Regions from separate parts of the Homo sapiens genome. Here regions 2 and 3 are each linked to region 1. Evidence: promoter capture Hi-C in 16 types of primary human blood cells and fetal thymus (Javierre and others, 2016). All regions are on one chromosome and are shown on one strand. The core of a region is centred on a gene start or on the middle of the fragment in contact, and the rest is flanking DNA. Distances in the headings are between cores, read along the strand shown.

What was found. Contacts are between HindIII fragments. The CHiCAGO score rates a contact against its expected background, and 5 or more counts as called.
Region 2: a contact is called between a fragment that was not itself captured here and the fragment with the promoter of FYB2 in region 1, in 2 of 17 cell types (naive B cells and total CD4 T cells). The highest score is 5.3, in naive B cells.
Region 3: a contact is called between a fragment that was not itself captured here and the fragment with the promoter of FYB2 in region 1, in 9 of 17 cell types (total CD4 T cells, naive B cells, non-activated CD4 T cells and 6 more). The highest score is 15.7, in total CD4 T cells.

What each region holds. Positions count from the first base shown.
Region 1 is chr1:56,818,133-56,820,711 of GRCh38, forward strand. It overlaps FYB2 (FYN binding protein 2), which reads right to left and starts at 1,272. Exons shown (of 20, transcript NM_001004303.5): 1 at 1,150-1,272. The coding sequence starts at 1,158. The HindIII fragment of the contact is 7,052 bases long and covers 1-2,579 here.
Region 2 is chr1:59,771,064-59,773,642 of GRCh38, forward strand. The region is part of intron 4 of LOC105378758 (a long non-coding RNA gene); the gene reads right to left. It overlaps LOC101926944 (a long non-coding RNA gene), which reads left to right and starts at 1,732. Exons shown (of 3, transcript NR_110627.1): 1 at 1,732-1,974. The HindIII fragment of the contact is 9,709 bases long and covers 1-2,579 here.
Region 3 is chr1:59,754,317-59,756,895 of GRCh38, forward strand. The region is part of intron 14 of FGGY (FGGY carbohydrate kinase domain containing); the gene reads left to right. Among named protein-coding and RNA genes, the nearest start is that of MIR4711, 22 kb to the left of the region's middle. The HindIII fragment of the contact is 5,194 bases long and covers 1-2,579 here.

The sequences.
Region 1 (2,579 bases), core at 22-2,521:
TCCCGTCAAGGAGGAGTTTCTTAAAAATTGCTAAGTGGTATGGTCGAGGTGGGGGTGGCGGGGAGAACTCAGAGGAGGGAGATGAAGTCATACCAACATGCCCCTGCTCACCCCTTTCCAAAACTCAGCTATTTGGACTGGAGTGATTTGCCACAGAGAGAAACATGCCCTTTGCCCTGAGACAAAGGGGAGCTTTTCCTGACCAGCAAAAGCTAAAATGGATCCTCTGCCCTGATTTAAAACCAAACTTGTGGGTGAGAAGCCACATGATTCATGGGAGAAAATGACTTGACTCCAAATATATAATAAAAAGTATGGAAGCAACACACACACACACACACACACACACACACACACACACACACACATGCACACGCACATCAAAAGAAACTGACTTACTGAAGACGGAAATAGAGGAGAGTGGAGAATTGGAGAAGGAAAAAGGAAGATGTGGTCAGTCAGGCAAGACGTCTCCAACTGTGCCAACAGCACTCAGCCATCCAAGGGGCAGGGAATGCTGGCGTAGGGCAGGATACTTTTCCATACATCTCTATTTATACAAGCACCTCTGATAGTCTCACAAAGTAGTTATTGTACCAGTAATTCTCTTTCATGAGTGAGGGACCCAGGGCTCAGGATGACGGACACACTTGCCCCAGGCCACACAGTTAACAAGGAGCAGAACCCGGTCTAGAGCCACAAGCCACAAAAGAGCAATGCACAGCCGGCTTCCTAGCACCAAGCACTGCTCTCTGACCAGGAGGCCCGCTAATCACTGCAGAGGCCAGATACAGTCCACAAGGGCAAGTAAACACAGAGAGAAGCCAGCGGGCGCTTCAACGGAGGATCTGGGAATAGGTCAGGAGTCCAGCTGGCTGGGTAGAGCTAGGCCACATGCTGTCATTCCTCAGCACCTCCTGTCCCCTCACACTCCAGGTGGCACAGGACATGGCACACTCCTCTTCCCTCCCACCCGCCCTGAGCAAAGCCAGTGTGAGCAGAAATGCACTGGCTGACACCTGACATGTTTATTCCTGCCCAGGAGGCAGCACACACAAGCAGTTTTTCCCCAGGGCTCTCAAGTGGGAGGAACTTGTCCTGCAAGAAAAGACACACAGAAAGCCAGCAACAAAACTGAGACAGCCTTACCCCTTCCATTGCTTTCCTCCAAGGCAGAGTCAGGGAAACAAGCCCAGCCTCTCAGAGCTGGGTCCTGGGGCCAACAATCCGCTTTCCTCTGTCTCTGCTAGCCAGGGAGCAATCACTTCCCACAGGACACACCTGAGCCCAGGCTCCCCACCTGCCCCATCTGGGCCGAGGCTCCTCCCTTGCCTGGGGCTGGGCCAGGGCCGGCCGCCATCCTCCCAGCTTGGCTTAGACCAGCACCTGCAGGGGACTGGGGAGAGTACTCCACCTGCAGTCCTGCCAAGCCCACCTCTTCTCAGCAAGCGGCTCTTCCCGTTGCTCCCCTCCGGCTGGTCTGACAGTCACTCACTCTCCAGGGCATTTGTGCCCAGGCAGCAGGAGCTGTGAAGGAATGGGGATGGCAGGCTCCTGTTAGTACAGACCATGCAGGCTGGACAGTGTGATCCCCGTTAGTAACAACCTCTGCCAGCTCCGCCCCTGCAGACGGCTACTTAATTTCACAAACCCTTTCTCACGGTCAGGGAAACCAAAGCCCAGCAGGACAGCATGCCTAAGCCCACAGGGGGATTTAGTGGAGGCCAGAAAAGGAGTTAACATAAAGGAGCACCCTGTTTTTGGCCTGGTGTTTATTGAGGCATTTGGATTCCCATTTTAAAAGGTGAAGAATGGCCGGGTGCAGTGGCTCACACCTGCAATCCCAGCACTTTGGGAGGTCGAGGTGTGTGGATCACTTGAGGTCAGGAGTTTGAGACCAGCGTGGCCAACATGGTGAAACCCTGTCTCTACCAAAAATATAAAAAAAATTAGCCAGGTGTGGTAGTGGGTGCCTGTAATCCCAGCTACTTGGGAGGCTGAGGCAGGAGAATTGCTTGTACCTGGGAGGCAGACGTTGCAGTGAGCCGAGATCATGCCACTGCACTCCAGGGGGACAGAGTGAGACTCCGTCTCAAAAAAAAAAAAAAAAGTGAGGAAACTGAGTCTCAGAGAGATGGTAACACCTGCCCATGGTCACATAGGTAGTAACTAGAAGAGCCAGGGTTGGAACCCAGATCTGGCTGACTCTAAAGTGATTTTATTTTGCTGGGGTTATTTTTGTTTGTTTGTTTTTCTGACAGAGCTGGAGATGGAAACCCAAACCTCAGTTGCCAGTTTTGGGGCTTTCAGCTCTCCCGGGGTTGGGGATGGGCAGAGTGGGTGGCCTGCGCCCTGCTTTATGTGTAACCGGTGTGACTTTTCTTGCTTTGTCAAGTTCTTAGAAATCTTCTCCTGTCCTGACCAGGGAGAGGCGGGGTGGAGCACAGGTGAGGAGACCCCGCCTGAGGGCCATTTCCTCTAACAGGTGATTCCCAAACCTGGCTGATCACCAGAGCTGCCTGGGAATCTATCAAAAATACAGGATTCAAGTCCCAGACAAAACACTGCATCAATGCTTC
Region 2 (2,579 bases), core at 42-2,541, 3.0 Mb after region 1:
ATACTCATGTGCATTGTGAGCTTCCTAGAGAAAAATTACCTGTGAAGCATTTCCCAGACTTACTCCTTTAGACAAGTTTTTTACAAAGCATTTTATTGCACATAATGGAACAACCACAGTATTTCGAAGGTTAATTAACCAAATCATCATGTTTTCACCTGAGTTGTATAGATGTTTTTCTTTCATATTATCTGTTGGAAGGTTTATTCAGCAAATTGATAGCTCCTATTATTAAAATTTTGGTTATCTAATTACAGAATTAAAATGATATTCACTGCTATAGAAATTATTGCCTTACGAATGAATGTTGCTAATTATCAATGTTTAAACTAGTCATTAGAAATAGGCTCAAAAAGACCTCTACTTGGAAATATAAGAAATTTCAACTGAAAGTTGTCCCTTCAGTTAAATTAAATTGTAGCTCCAGACCATGGGTCAAACTAACGGGATAGCAAGTGTCACATTAACTAATTATTAACTAATAATTAATTATTAACTAATAATACAATCATGCATTTCTTTGTTATATTTTTAAATTTAGTATTTCCATCCATTCTAACTTTGAAGTCTTCCTTCTCTATCCTGTATTCCATGTAGGAAACTCCCTAGTAATGTATATCAGGCCAAGAATATCACGCCTCTCCAACTTACTTCCCCTCCTTGTGCACACCCTCACCCTAAACCATACATACAACACAGACAACATTAATATATTATTAGGTCTTTTGCTAAAAAGAGTAAAAAGTTATTTCCTTAAGATCAAGCAAATACTAAAGGATAGTGTAGCTAACATTAGCTATTTTGCGACATGAGTTCTTAATACTAAATGTCATGAGTTCTATTAAAGTTGTGCTGATTTAAATTTCAACCTTGTATAGATATTTTAATATCATTTTGACAATATACTTCTAAGCTGTTTATTTACTTTAATGGTTTTGTAAGAAGTTTCTGCATACACTACAAGATAAAAACTTGTTACAATTAAAAAGGATTTGAAGGAACCATGAAGTTATTTTAACAGTAAACATGTTTATTTTTTGTATAAATTGTGCATTTTCCTTTTTTACATCTACATAGTAATTTTTAAAGTATAATTTCTGAAACATATGGCTTAGCTGTTCTACACAGGTGCTACATAGAGCTGGAGAACATATTGTGCTTATATGTATTCAAGCATATGTTTCAATCCTACTCTTTTTACAATAAACATTTCATCGACTTCCTGCTATTTATATCAGGAACACGTATTTGGCCTTGATTTCACCTGCTCTTTTTGTAGAGAGACTTACAAAGAGACTCTGGGAGGTTATGGAATCTACAGGAAATAAATACAATGTCGATTTTGTTACAAGGTGATTGAGCTGGTAAGGAAGTGGTTAAAAAATAAACCTTTACAACTGTAAGTGTAGAATGAGATAACAATGTGTTACTCTTTTCGTTTTTTTCTGATTATTTTACTCTCCCCAAAACCCTTTTACATTTGTACAAAAACTTAACTCAGTGTTTAAAAAATATTGTTTCTCATACTATAATCACAACTCTAGTTTTAAGAATAAACAGTTAATATACCAATAAGAATAACTAATAATAATAGTAGCTAACAGTGGATAAGTGCTCACCATGGGCAGGCTCTGGTCTATGCCTGATCCCACTTAATCTTCATAACAAACGGAAATGATCAGCACTGTTATTTATATTTTGCAGATAAGGAAAACGAAGCACAGAGCAATTAAATAACTTGCCCAAGATCGCCCAAGATCACCCAAGATGTCCGGCTGAAGTTCTTAACCATTACCTTACACTAATCAACAGCAACAATAATAATAACCACCTTTCTAGGATGCAAATTATGTTCCAAGAACTTTCATTATTTCATTACATCTGCATAGCCCCAAGAGTAAATAATATCCTGTTCTATTGAAGAAGAAACTGAGGTCCCAAGACATGAAATTACTTGCTCAAGGTCACACACTGGTAAGTGGCATTAAACCACCTCCTATAAGTGTCAGAAGATAATTGGGGCTGAGGTGGAGCTGAGATTTTAAAAATATCAGTGGTAGGAGATAGACGATGTGATGCCCCATTTAAACTACATGGCAGTGGTGTCCTACGACTAGGAGAGGAGAGGCGGGAAAAGCTGAAGTCTCATGAAATAAAAATCAAAATAAAAAGAATGCTTGGCGATGCTATTAGTATATAGTCCCCTTTCGACACTTAAAAAATGCTCAGAAAGAGTGAAGATTTACTGCTAGAGGGGCTATGTTTTTAACTCTTTATACTCCAGACACAAGCTGCACTGCTATACAGTCAGCAGATGTTTTTTAGGAAAGGGCTAGATAGTAAATATCTTTTGGCCTTTCATATTATTTGATCTCATTCGCTACTGCTTAACTCTGCCATTGTAACAAGAAGGCAGTCACAGACAATATGTGAATGAATGGGCAGAGCTGTGTTCTAATAAAGCCTTATTTACAAAAACAGGTGGTCCTGCAATGTGGCCTGCAGGCTGTAGTGTGCCAGCCTCTGCTCTGGCCTCTGGGGTGGTGGCTTTGGGAGTATTGAGGACCAGTCCCCTAAGT
Region 3 (2,579 bases), core at 37-2,536, 2.9 Mb after region 1:
TAACACCTGTCTATTCTCATAGATTGCTCACTACTCTTCTCTTAATTCCTCAGGAATCCTTTCCTTTTTTTTTTGTTGTTTGTTTGTTTTGGTCTCTTTTTTGTTTGGTTTTGTTTTGAGATAGAGTCTTGCTCTGTCTCCCAGGCTGGAGTGCTGGAGTGCAGTGGTGCAATCTCGATTCACTGCAACCTCTGCCTCCCAGGTTCAAGCAATTCTTGTGCCTCACCCTCCCCGTGGGACCACAGGCACATGCCACCATACTTGGCTAATTTTGTATTTTTAGTAGAGACGGGGTTTCACTATGTTGGCCAGGCTGGTCTTGAATTCCTGCCCTCAAGTGATCCACCCACCTTGGCCTCCCAAAGTGCCAGGATTAAAAGCATGAACCACTGCTCCCGGCCCAACCTCATGCTTCTTTATGGTGACTGCTCCACCTCGTTAGGTGGCCATGTTGGACAGGATCTGAGAACCCCTGGCAGCTCTCTCATACATGGGCCACTTGGGGTCTATGGGAAACCTTTGTCTTTTGGATCTGGACAGACTCTGGCAGTGCTGGTTGATCCCAGGGTAACCTCTACTTCACTTTTACACTGCAGCTGTCAGCCAGCCTGTCTCTTCCAGACAGGAGTCACATACAAGCCACCATGTGCCACAACCTCAGGGACATGCAGCAGATTCTCTGCTGGTCTGTGTCTTCCTGACTCCTGAAGGGAGAGGATCTCTTCATACTTCACCCTGGAAGGAGGCCTGATGTGCAGTAAACCAACAGCTCTTTCCTAAAAATCCATCTCTGTCTGACCTTCCACATCAATGAAAGGTTTAAGAGTTGATTAATGGGTCCTCAGGCACCCTTCTTGCACATTCTTCAGGGTGGTCTGTTTCCAGTTCACTTTGGTATCTTATATCTGTCATCTTTAGATCTCAGCCAAAACTTCCATTTTAACATTCCGTCACGTGTATTATCCTTAAGTTCATTCATTCCGTAGACATTCCCTGAGTGCATACGATATGCCAGATGCCGAGTTTGGCAGTGAAAATAATTATAACAATTCCTGCTTTAAGGCGCTCACAGTCTAGTTGGGGAGGCTGATCTGTTAACAAAAAAATATGGTGCCATGTCATAAACGCTATGATAGACGGAAGCAGAAGTTGCTGTTGGAGCACATAACTCAATATAGGTGGGAGGCAGGCAGCGGGGATGAGTCAGAAAAAAATCTCAGTAGAGCTGATACCTGAGCTAAGTTTAACATTTAAATCTGTACTTTCTGAGAAACAGCATAACCTCTTTTTAAACCATTGAAATCTCTCTTGCTGATGTTTGCTTCTCAATTTATTTTTAAAACAAGCAAAGGTAATGTGGAGAAAGGAGGGAAGAATTCCCTGATGTCTGCCGTTTATGTGCACATCTGTTGCAGTGGGAAGGAAAATAACATTTATGGAGTACCTTCTATAATAGAAGTTTCCTGGATCCCACCCATGAGGGCGATCCTGGAATGTTGTCTCAAGTGTGGGGCCAAAGCACAGCCAGGAGGAGCATTCCCTGAGGGCAGTTTGAAGATTCAGAGCTGGCAATAGAAGGCAAGGTCCTCCCTAAAGCACAGCAGAGCACAACTCAAGGAAGAGACGAAAAGGACAAAATAAGAATGAGTGGCACGGTTGATGATGGGGATTGCTGAGACCATCTCAACAATACCCCGGCTTGCTCTAAGGGAATCAGGACTTCGTCTTTGAAGGAAACTGTTCTGGGGTAAGCAGAGCTCTTAACATACCTCTGCTAAGTGGAATGGCAGCATGTTCACTAAGATGTGTTTGACCATTTGGCCCTCCACAAAATGACTCCAGACAGCCCTTTTAGTCTTCCTCTTTCTCCATGGTTTCTTTGTCAATAATTTTTCTTCATTAAAAAAAATCTCCTCCCTACTTAAGGCTGCCATTTCTTTCTGTTGTCATTGTGCTGGCTACTCTTAGCATCTCTGATCTCCCAATCAGCACATTCACATCCATTGAGAGCTGGGAAGCTAGATGTCTAGTTCAGAATGCACATGCTATCCTTGTGGAAGAGTCCATAGAGCAACCTAGCAGGAGTGGAAATTCGTGTAAGCTAGCAGATGAAAGAACCATCAGGTTACCTAACCCTTGAATAACTACTGAAAGAAGTTTATCCGCTTCTAGCGTAGTATTTATCACACTCTATTTTGATCACAGTAAATGTCTTTTCCACTCTATAGTGAGCTCTTTGATGAAAGGCCCATGCAATCTTCCTCTCTGTATTCCATGTAGATTGAGTGTTATGCTTGGCACGTGAAAGGGAGGCAATATGTTTTATGAATAGTCCAGGTGTCGAGACTTAGTAGTAAACAGACAAGTCCTTGCCCTGTGTAGCTTACATTCCGGTTAGGGCAAGGAGTGGAGAAGGCAGACAACGAACACATAAACCAGTAAATATACAAAGTGGCAGAAGGAAATTAGTGGCATGCAAATCAGTCAATCAGTCACAGTAAGGTGGCAAAGATGGTCAGGGGAAACACTTGGAAATGTTTTGAAGATACCCAGGGGCTCTCATATTCTGTATGGTATTC